Regions from separate parts of the Homo sapiens genome. Here region 1 is linked to region 2. Evidence: promoter capture Hi-C in human tissues and cell types (Jung and others, 2019). All regions are on one chromosome and are shown on one strand. Each heading gives the region's core, a stretch centred on a gene start or on the middle of the fragment in contact. The rest is flanking DNA. Distances are from core to core; before and after follow the strand shown.

Region 1 (5,947 bases), core at 2,904-5,403, 130 kb after region 2:
TGAGCCCAGAAGATGTCCTGCTATGCTGGACCAGATAACCCACAGGCCAAGTCCAGCTGAGAAAAATCCTAGAGATAACAGATTGAAACCCAATCTTCCCATTTGTTTGGCACATTCCTCTTCCCCTTTCACCAGAACTTTGCCCAAAATTCTAGTTTAAAAAGATGAGGAACAATGCTACTTAAAAAGGGTAGAGCCAGCTGGGGGCCTTTAAAATGATGCTGAAATGAAAAAAAAAGGACAGAACATGATTTATGACGATAACACCTGGAAAGATTATATACCACAATGGAGCCAAAAACCATGAACAAAGTTATTTCTAAGGAATCAATTAAAGACAATATTGTTTCTCTGAAATGAGAATTTAAAGACGCAATATAAGGCTTTAAGGAAGAACTGATAATACATTAGGTTAAACGGGAATGAAAAGTGAGTGGGTAAAGCCTCAGAAATAAATTAGGAATAAATGAGAATGAAAAGGGAGTAGACAGAGTCTTGGAAACAAATTAGAAACAAATGAGAATAAAAACAGAATAGGCAGAGCCTCAGAATCTCAGAGAGAGAGACACAAAAAGAGACCAAAATCAAAGGTCATGATAGAAGCAGCAAAAGGGAGATGAGACACTACTGAAGGAATTCAAAGGATGGTTTTGAGAAGAAAAAATGAGCAAGTGAGATGGAAAAGAACAAAAAGTAAAAGACGGAAGACAGAGATAGAGAAAAAGAGGGGGATGGGAGGGGTGGTAGGGAAGAGATCAAATATCTTTAACACTAAATGCCTTGCATGGGTTAAAAAATGAATGGAACATGAAAACAAATTTTCAAAGATACAATTCAAGGTGAAATTCCTGAAATACAATGAAATTTGAATCTGCAGACAGAAATAGCCCAAGAATTACAAGGCTGTGTTTATATTGAATAATTAACAAATACCCCAATAAATTCCTGGTATTTGAAGTTATGGAAAGAATTCTGTGGATATTCAGAAAAAAAAACCTAGGAGGCTAATATTTCTTTATGTGACAGATGAAATGCTAGAAGACAGTGGGGCAAGATATAAAAAGTCCTTGTCCCTTTTGTGTTGCTATAAAGAATACCCGAGGCTGCATAATTTATAAAGGAAAAGAGATGATTTGGCTTATGATTCTGGTGGCTGGAAAGTTCAAAATTGGGCATCTTCATCTGGTGATGGCCACAGCCTGCTCCCACTCATGGCAGAAGAGGAGGGGAAGCCAGCATGTGCAGAGATTACATGAGAGAGGAAGCAAGAGAGAAACCGGGAGGTGGCCCACTCTTTTAAGAAGCAGGTCTTGCAGGAACTAATAGAGGAAGAATTCATTCACCATCAGGAGAGGACATTAACCTATTCAATGGGAGGGCTCTGTCCCCATGACCCAAACACCTTCTATTAGGCCCAGCCTCCAATATTGGGGACTAAATTTCAACATGAGCTTTGAAAGGGTCAAATATCCTAACCTTAACAGTCCTCAGGGAAAGAAAATGTGCCCCAAGAATGCAACCAAACAAACTTCCATAAACTTCAAAGGCTACAAATAGCTATGTACAAACATACAACTCAGGAAATATATATTCATGAAGAAAACAAATGAGTAAAGGTTGGACTCTCAGCAACTGAGAGGAGCTGTGTCTAAAAGATTTCTTGTAATCTTTAACGATGCATTATGGTTAAATCTGTGCAAATTATGGTCACAGAGAAGAAAACAAATACCATCAACTGTGACAATGTGGAGATAATGTAAGTAACTGATTAAAAATAAAATAGCAAGTGTAGTTGAAACTGAAATTGACATCAAGGGGACACTGATTTTCTCATTTTTAGTTCCAAGATTCCAATATACGTTGTTTTAAAACTTATATCAGGCAAAACTGCACGTACAGCATGTGTATTCATTTCAGAAAAATAATTGCATAAGTGGTTAATGACACCAGGAAACCTAATTTTTGCAGACTATATATGTATTACCTCAAAATAAGAATATTATTGCATTACATTCATTTTAATAATATTTAGTAACAAACCCATATGTATCTTATAAAAAGTTATAGTCTATTTTGTTCCAATTCAATAAAAATCATTGATATTAATTAAGCAACTTCTATATACAAGGTGAGTAGTTTTCAACTGTGAGTCTGTTTTGTCTTAAGGAAGTTAATATCCCTTAATCCAAACTTTCAAAATAGTATTCAAGGAACAGGAATGTTATTCTTAAGTTGAAAATACTTTGCCCATACACATAATCTAGTTGGATCCATAAAGAGATTGTGGTATTTTGATACCTAATAATTTCTTTATTAAAAAAGAATTTATCCCCTAATAAAATTAAAAATAACTCTCTATGAAGATAGAGAACTAGACCTGCTGATGTTAAAAATGAAAAACTCAGTTGGATATTGCAGGTTTTCATGAGCAGCAGAGTGTCAGAGCTTTGGACATGAGTTGTTTCATTTTGCATTTCATAGCCCTGTGTCCAGAAACTTCATTTTGAAGTTTAGACAAAGTGGGGAGCAGAGGGCAGTATGGGCCAGTCCTGTGAATTTTGCAGTTCTGCATAGGTAGATTATTAGATAGATACACAATAGATAGATCATAGATGGATAATTATGATGATGATGAAGATAGATACATACATATATACATACATACATAGATGCATGGATGGACAGATTTGTTTTTTGTAAAAATTAAAATTATAAGAAACACCCACAAGACTCTACAATAATAATTAGAACTAAATCTCTCAGAGATGTATGTCTTGACATTCTGGGGCCAGAAATGACATTTTTCTTCTTTTTAAAATACCTTTCCTAGAAAGAGTTGCATGATGAATACTTCTTGAGGATACTGTTGAAAAAAATCTCCACATAGAAGTTTGAACTTTTCATGTAAAAAAAAGTGCATGTGTGAATCCAGAAAGCACATTTGTGTTACTCAGTATCACCACTTATATCAGTTGGGATGGTTCAATTTCAAGTTACATAATACCTGAGTCAGATTGGCTGAATCAACATGGACATGACTTTCTCAAGTTAAGGAAAGGTCCAAGGTAGGGCTGGTGCCCTGCTTTGTCTTGTCCCATCCATACCCTTTATTCCAAATCTCTCTCTTCTACCCTACCCTAACCCATAGCCAGCAAACTGTAATATGCCCTCAAATGTTTCTTAAAATATTCTTCTCAACTTCTGTCCTTAATTAAAACTAAGTTGTCCTCTGAGGACCCTGACTCTGTTTCTATCTGTCATCGCTTAGGGCTTGGTTGGGTCACAGACATGACTGCTGCTTCAGGACCATCTCCCTTCCTTTCACCTTGAAAAGTCCTGTCTCTTGACAAGTCATGCTATTCTGCTCTATTGGCATTTACCCATCTCTCTTTGCTGTCTTCTATCAATCTGCTGGTCACACCCCAGTATGTATTGACAATTGAAGCTCTGGGGTTCGCATGATACTTTCCACCTCACTCTTAGCAGTACATTGGCTTGGTTCAGCATCCATGTTGATGCCCTCCCTCCACTCCAGTTGTTCTTCCCTGAACTTTGTCATCACCACTTTTGGCACCCCCTTTAAAATCCCAATGTACCAATTCTCTCCAACCCCTAGACCATAATAAGCTCTAGGGAGCCAGGAACTATATGTTCCTTACATTCACCCACTCCACACCCCACACTCAGCCTCTGCCACATAGGACATGCTCAACAGATATTTGTTGAACAAATTAATGCCAAAATCAATTTTCCTGTCTTTTACAAATTCATTATTAAATGAAAACTTTAGACTTATTCTCAAGTTTCAGACAGAAAGTCTCTTTTTGGAGGTTGAGAAGGTATTTATTGTTAATTAAGGCATAATTTACATTAATAAAAATGCATAACCGTATTCGTCAAGGTTCTCTAGAGTGACAGAAGTAGTAGGATAGATGTATATACAAAGGGGAGTTTGTTAAGGAGCACTGACTCACGTGATCACAAGGTGAGGTCCCACAATAGGCCATCTGCAAGCTGAGGATCCAGGAAGTCAGTCCAAGTCCCAAAGCCTCAAAAGTAAGGAAGCCGACAGTGCAGCCTTCAGTCTGTGTTCAAAGGTCCGAGTCCCAGAGTTGAAGAACTTGGAGTCTGATTTTCGAGGGCAGGAAGCATCCAGCTGGGAGAAAGATGTAGGCCAGAAGACAAAACCAGTCTAGTCCTTTCCCGTTCCTCTGCCTGCTTTTATCCTACCACGCTGGCAGCTGATTAGATGGTGCACACCCAAATTGAGGAAGGGGCTGCCTCTCCCAGTCTACTGACTCAAATATTAATCTTCTTTGACAGTACCCTCATAGACACACCCAGGAGCAATACTTATATCATTTCAATCCAATCAAGTTGACACTCAATATTAACCATCACAATAACTTTTTGTGGTTTTTTAAAATTCTATTTTGAGTTGTAGGATCCTTTATATATTCTGATGAGTTTACACAAATATATTCACCTGTGAAAACATCAGCCTAATAAAGATAAAGAATATTTCCATCACTCCAGAAAATTTCCTCATATCACCAAACCCCAAAACTTCAGGCAACTGCTGTTCTTATTACCATGGCTTTCATGTTGCCTCTACTAGAACTTTATATAAATGGAATCATGCAACATATTCTATTTGGTATCTGGCCTATTTAACAACATACTATTTCTGAGATTTATATATGTTTCCATTGCAGGTAACAATAGTTATTCCTTTTTTTATCTGTTAGTAGTATGTCGTTATATGAATATGTAACAGTAAGTTTATCCATTTATCCTTTGGTAAGCATTTGGGTTCTGCTCCATTTGAAGTTATCATGAATAATGCTACAATGAATATCTGTGTACAGGTCTTTGTGTGGATGAATATATGTTTTCATAACTTTTTGGTATATATCTATAAATGGAATTGTTGAGCCATAGGGTAGTTATTAAAAGTAGTTGCACCATTTTATATTCTCACCTCAATACATGAGCATTCCAATTGCTCCACATCCTCATCAAAACTTAGTATTGTCAGTCGTTTTAACTGTAGCCATTCTAATGGGTAGGAGTATCTCATGGTTTCACTTTTTATTTCCTTGATAACTAATAATATCGAGCAACTTTTCCTGTGATTGCTAGCTATTTGCATTTCCTTTTTTGGGAGATTTTTGTCCAAATAATTTGCTCATTTTCTATTTTTTTTTTTTTTGCGTGTGTTTTTGTTTTATTTTTGTCTTTTTATGTTGAGTTTTAGAATTCCTTTACATATTCTGAACACAAATACTTGGTTTCAAAGTCAGTGAATTGCCTTTTCATCTATCTTGAAGAGCAGATGTATTTTTGATGAAGCACAATTTATGATTTTTTAATGTTTAGTGCCAGGTATTTGTAGAAGGAGTCTTTGTCTACCTTTGCTTTATTGTAAAAGCTTCAAAATTTTAGATTTTATGTTCAGGTCAAATCTCAGTTGATCTTAATTTAATGCTTGTGCAGAGTATGGAGTAAGGGATCAAAGTTCATTTTTATCCATATAGGTATCCAGTTTTTCCAATTCCATGTGTTGAAAAAGACTATTCTTTTCCCATTGACTTGCATTATCAACTTTGTTTAAAATGAATGGACTGCGTAAGTGGCAGGAAGTTTTGTTTTGTTTTTTTTTTAAATATAATTGAGCCTTTAAAAAGGCCAATCTTTGTTAAAAGTTAAACAAAAGTTAAAAGTGATGATGACAAAGTCCTAACTGGCTGTCCTTGTGGCTTCAAAGCAGATGATGGAACAGTGGAGCGAGTTTAGCATGGAAGGGTGAAGGAAGCTTTAGGGACATTCATCATTACATCTCAGGGGAAAGCTGAGACTTTCTTTATACCCGGAGATATATGTCAGCCAATTCTGTTCAGGTTGCATAGCCTCTGATGCCAGTTTCTGAGCGTTACCTATTACATCT
Region 2 (5,865 bases), core at 864-3,363:
TGAGAAAATGAAAATGACTTGTCCTTGCCCCCCTGACGTTGATCTTCCCACCCTGCTGCTCCCTCTTCTGCTCTCAAACCCATGTGCAGTGCTCAGCCCCAGGCATCACTGCCCCCAGGGTATTCACAGTGTTGCCTACTGCACACAAACACAAACTCACAGAAGGTGACAAAAATCTGCGTTTGGGACATCTGATTGTGAAAGAGGGATAACAGTGAACGTAGAGCCACAGAGACTGGGACTCACGGGGCTGGAAGGTGAAGGAGCTGTAACATAACATATGTGTGACCTCGTGTGAAGTGGAATAAAACATGCAGCCTGGCCTGGGATTGCTGCCGTTCACACTTCCCTCCCTGTCCACCAGAGGGCGACAGAGTCCCTCCCAGCCTGGAGCCTTCCCAGGGGATGCCAACCTCCCTCAGCGGAACCCACAGCCCAGCAGGGTCCACCCTCACCAGGGTCACTTCGGCCCAAGTCCTCAGCACCCTCCATGCTCCCCACACGGACTCTGTCAGTTCCTCCCTGACCTGGCGGCCGCCAACCTAACACCACTCCCTCTGCAGGGAGCTCCTGCCCCACACACCTGCTCCTTCCCTGGGCCCAGCTAAAGGCATCTCCCAGGGCAGCGCTGGTGCACGCGACGCCACACTGGGCGCTTTCCCCTCGTGAACTCTCTCCATCCTCATCAACTCTTTCTGTCACTGCTCCCTAAATGCCTGCCCCTGCTCCATCTGTCCTGTTCTCTGGGGCTTCCCAGGCCAAGCCTAGCGCCGACACAGAACAGCGGCTGCCTGAGGGCCCACAGCCTCCCCGGGAATCAGCCAGGCACCCTGTCACCTGCCTGCCCCCTGCACCCCAGGGGGCTCAGAGAGCGTGTGATGGTCATTCACAGGTACCATCCGGGATGTGGCCACCTACCCCCAGCTGTCCCTTGGGAAGACAGACCTCTCCTGTGTACTTGCGTGGAGAAGGGCGGTGTTATTGCTCTTTGCTCCCAGAACACAACTCACCCCCACCCGCCCTCTCAGGTGTGAGCAACGTCCCTCCAGAGAGCCTCTCTGGTCACTGCCTGTTCCTCCTCTACAGACAGCAGCTTGGCCAGGTCAAAACCCTCAGGACAGACCCCTGGGTGTGTCAGCACATGGAGGGCTGAGCCCATCATGGCCACGGAGTAAGTCGGGATGAATCTCTCCAGCTCTGAACCCCTGCTCTGTCCCAGGCTCCCCCTCCTGCGTCTCAATGAGCCATGTCCCGCGGGGTTCCTGGGTAACTCCCCACTTCCTCCTGCACCACCACGGGGAAGGTGTGGTGACCACAGGACAATCAGCTGGGCAGAGAAGAGAGGACATCAAAGATGGTCAGGGAGAACATGAGAAACCCTGAGCTCCAGCTCAGCCGCCAGACCCCAGGGAGCCATAGACTGACAGAGAACTGTCCCTTTGACTATGGGACTCACAGCCCCCACTGAGCAACCAGCACAGGCCTCTCCTCCTAAGAGGCATGAGAGATTCACCCTGCACACCTCCAGGAAGGACAGTTTCCTCTGGGACACCCAGGTCCTGAAAGTCCATCCTTGGAAGCTGCAGTCAAGCTTGACACGATTAGAGAAAGGAAGGGTCCCTCTCACCAGGCAACACACAGCTCACCCACAGCACAATGGGGTGTCACTGTGACAGGGACCTGGTGCATCTCCAGCCTCCTGCACTGAAGGGGAGAGCCAGATGGGGATGAAAGAGGGTAAAAGGCATGAATGTGCACCCCAACCCAGAGCCATGGGGACAGCAGGAGGCTGAGGCCCAGGACTGTGCTTGCCCAACCTGCAGGGTATGTGCCTGACTGTGTGGGTCTGTGTGTGTCTCTTCTGTGTGTGTGTGTGTGTGTGTGTGTGTGTGTGTGTGTCTGCACAAAGTGTGTGTTGAGGTTTGGTGAAAGAATCACTGCTGAAAAAGGCAGAGGCCTCCACAACTCCCAGGGACCTGAAACACAGACAAAAGGAAAAACAGAAGGAGGGACAAGGAGGCAGGACTGAGAGAGAAGGGGACAGAGAGGTGTCCTGGGACTGACCCCGCCCATGAGCTTGAGAAGTGCTCCTGCCCCGGGAAGAGGCTCAGCACAGAAGGAGGAAGGACAGCACAGCTGACAGCCGTGCTCAGACAGCTTCTGGATCCCAGGCTCATCTCCACAGAGGAGAACACACAGGCAGCAGAGACCATGGGGCCCCTCCCAGCCCCTTCCTGCACACAGCGCATCACCTGGAAGGGGCTCCTGCTCACAGGTGAGGAGAGAACTTCCTGGGAGAGGACAGGGGGAGGAAGCGGAGTGACTGGATGGGGTCTCCTGGAGAGGATGGGGTTGTAAAATAAAAGAAGCCAGCTCTTAGGGAGGCTGAGGTGGGTGGATCACGAGATCAGGAGTTCAAGATCAGTCCGGCCAATGCAGTGAAGCCCAGTCTCTCCTAAAAATATAAAAAATTAACCAGGTATGGTGGTGTACTCCTGTAATCCTAGCTACTCGGGAGGCTGAGGTGGGAGAATCATGTGAACCCGGGAGGCAGAAGTTGCAGCTAGCCGAGATACCGCCACTGCACGCCAGCCTGGGCGACAGTACGAGACTCCGTCTCAAAAAAAAAAGAAAAAAAGGAAAGAAGGCTCTGTTGCAGCCTGGATAGGGGAAAATACACCAGAGAGGGACAGGGGTCAAAAGAGGAAAGTCACATTGAACCGGAATTGGTAAGAGGTAGGAAAATCTTAAGTGTTCTGTTTTCCTGATTAATCATCCGGGGCCACCACATTTTGAAAAATGATAATAATAACTATATCAGATGACACTTCAAATAAAAATATAAGCAGGACATGAAACACTATCCTCAGCAAAAAACCTCAACAATTGGGGGAAAAAAAAACACCCAGGGCATGGAGGGCCCTGAGAACTCTCACATCTACAGGAGTCTGCAGCCTGTCCCAGGCACTGGGGTGCAACCAGGATCACAAAAGTCCCTGTCCTCACGGAGCTCACGCTGTCATGGGGAGGAAGACAGACATGCGAAGAGATGTAGAATGTGAGATCAGGTGTTGACAAGAACCCTGGAGGGAGCAGAGCAGGGAAAGGTCAGAAAGGGAAGACCCAGGGTCTCTGAAGGAGGTGTCAGGAAAGAAGTCTAAGGATGCCCTGATGTGAGCAGGACCTGAGGGCAGTGTGGAGGGGGCCGTGTGGACCCCTGGGGAAGAGGATTCCAAACAGAAAAATGCCAAGGTCAGAAGTGTTGAAGGAATGGGGGTCATGCTGCTGACCTTGACCTAGTAGGACAGTAGGACACACACACATACACATACACAAACACACATGCCCGTTTTTTGTGTGTGTTTGTTTGTATGTGTGCGTGTGTGTATCTTCAAGGCTGAGGATGGAAGAGACCTTCTCAGGACCCAGGGCCCCATCTTTTCACCACAATACATAGGTCTCAATATTAACTGATGCTGTCTCCCCCTCCTAGCATCACTTTTAAACTTCTGGAACCCGCCCACCACTGCCGAAGTCACGATTGAAGCCCAGCCACCCAAAGTTTCTGAGGGGAAGGATGTTCTTCTACTTGTCCACAATTTGCCCCAGAATCTTCCTGGCTACTTCTGGTACAAAGGGGAAATGACGGACCTCTACCATTACATTATATCGTATATAGTTGATGGTAAAATAATTATATATGGGCCTGCATACAGTGGAAGAGAAACAGTATATTCCAACGCATCCCTGCTGATCCAGAATGTCACCCGGAAGGATGCAGGAACCTACACCTTACACATCATAAAGCGAGGTGATGAGACTAGAGAAGAAATTCGACATTTCACCTTCACCTTATACTGTGAGTGATTCCACATGATCCCTGGGTGTTGGGGGGAAGGGGTCATTTCTACTTCACACACACAGGATTGTCAGGCCTGGACTCTGCCTGTGTCACTCTCTGCATTATGTCCCATGCTGGGGTTTGGGCATTTAGTGCAGGACACACACAGAGGAGACAAATTTCAACAGATCAGAATTCCTTTCCCGCATCCAGACCCTGCAGACACTCGCTGCAGAGGAAGGACAGTCTGATGGGGGGACTCAGCAGGAGGAGATCAGTCTCAGCCAAGCACATCATGCCCTCTTCATAAATTTGACCCTGAGAAAGACCCTGGAGAACTGAGTAGGGCTTGGCTTGAGGGGACCCCTGAGATACTCTCAGAGAAGCTCAGCCCTAGAAGCCTCAACCCCAGACCCCTGTCCCTAAATCCTTGCTCCAGTTAAGCTGAGGAGCCTGTGCCAGTGCTGGGTTGTGGCTTCTTGGGCAGGCCTTACTGGGACCAAGAATTTACCAGCTGTCTGAGGACTGTGTCTCCTGGAGCTGTTCACCAGCCAGGGCTCAGCCCTCAGAGTCTCATCTGGGCAAGGACAGAGCTTTTTCAGCTGACACTCAGAGTGGAGAGGACAGAAAGACAAGCTTTGTAGGACATCAGCCAACTGCCTTGGGAGGCTTAGGACAGTCCATAGAAAGTCTAATGTCCCCAGAAGCAGAAACAGAAGGGAGAAGATGTACCTGGTAGCAGCTTGTCCACAGGGATCTGACATAAGGTGCTTTCTCATGGAAGCAAATTAATAATAAATGCTGCTTGTGTGAAACCTCCACTGTGCCAAGCATTAGGTCAGGTGACTGTGAATCATTTAACATTTATTCACAGATAGCATGAAAAGCCACAGTCCATTTGCCATTTAGTTTATTTGATTGAGAGAAAACTGAGGCACAGGAAGGTGCAGTCACTGAACCAGAGTCACACAAACACAAAGGGGAGATCAGGGTCACATGAGGTCTGTCTGCAGCCACAGGCCTATCCTCTCCTCCACCAGAAGTGAGGGCTTACTGGGTTCCAAGGACCCCATAGTCATTTATTGGCTCAAATCCTCTCTTCTTAGGCATCCAAACCTCAGAGGAGTGAGAGCAAATGGTCAGCTGATTAGTCTGTATTCCAGAACTAAATCACCTGCCTCAACCATCAGAGTCAGTGCAAAAAATATGTCCAGGCCTCCCCCTCAGATCTTAACCCCCATCACTGAACGTGAAATCCTGTGTTTCCCAAAGTGTCCATGTCACTGTCATGAGAGGATCAAGGAGAGGACCTTGTTTTCTTTCCCCACTCACACCCTACACCAGCACAGGCCCAGCGAGAGACACACACTCAGGAGCTCTCACATAATGAATGAAGAACTTGAATGAAGAAATGAATGATCCAAAACCTCTTTAGAGACTGAATTTGCATGCAGAATCCTAGGAGGTTCTAGCCACACCTGTCCCTTGTCCTTCAGAGGCTGACACCCACGTTTCATCCCCCCACTACCTCTTGCCCCTAAAGCCACCCCACCTCATGTAACTCTGAAGCTCTTTGGCCACCGGAGGGTTCTCAGGGCTCCTTGGTCCTGGACTGTGGAACTGGGGGCACCTGGGCCCTGGGGTCTCTGAAGTCAGTGTCTCCCTCACTGCTCACTGCCATGGTGTCTCTGCCTCTCTCTGCTTCTCTGTGTCCCTCATCTTCCTCCCACTTCATTCTGACTGGCAAGCCCTGTCCTGCACAGCTTCTTCCCCCACCCCTAGGCCTTCCCCAGACATTCCCTCTAACTAGGCTGGCTGTTCGGTTCCCTTCCTACTAACACTGTGGCCTGGCCCACCTCCCAGGAAATAGGAAAGGCACAGAAATCACCTGGAGTTGCCACTCCTGCCTGGCTTCATCTCCAGCCAATGTCCCCAGGTCACTAAGAGAAATATTCCACTGTATTCCCATCCATGGCTCTTTCCCTTTGTCAGTCTGACCTGTGGACAAGAACATGGGACAGGGA

The links. Contacts are between HindIII fragments. The study calls those that stand out against the background at their distance.
Region 1: a contact is called between a fragment that was not itself captured here and the fragment with the promoter of PSG9 in region 2, in 2 of the 25 tissues and cell types used here (H1 embryonic stem cells and pancreas).

The regions. Positions count from the first base shown.
Region 1 is chr19:43,135,726-43,141,672 of GRCh38, reverse strand. No RefSeq gene overlaps it. Among named protein-coding and RNA genes, the nearest start is that of PSG11-AS1, 16 kb to the left of the region's middle. The HindIII fragment of the contact is 7,180 bases long and covers 564-5,947 here.
Region 2 is chr19:43,265,778-43,271,642 of GRCh38, reverse strand. PSG9 (pregnancy specific beta-1-glycoprotein 9) reads left to right here and starts at 2,113. Exons shown (of 6, transcript NM_002784.5): 1 at 2,113-2,275; 2 at 3,494-3,859. The coding sequence starts at 2,212. The HindIII fragment of the contact is 8,927 bases long and covers 1-5,642 here.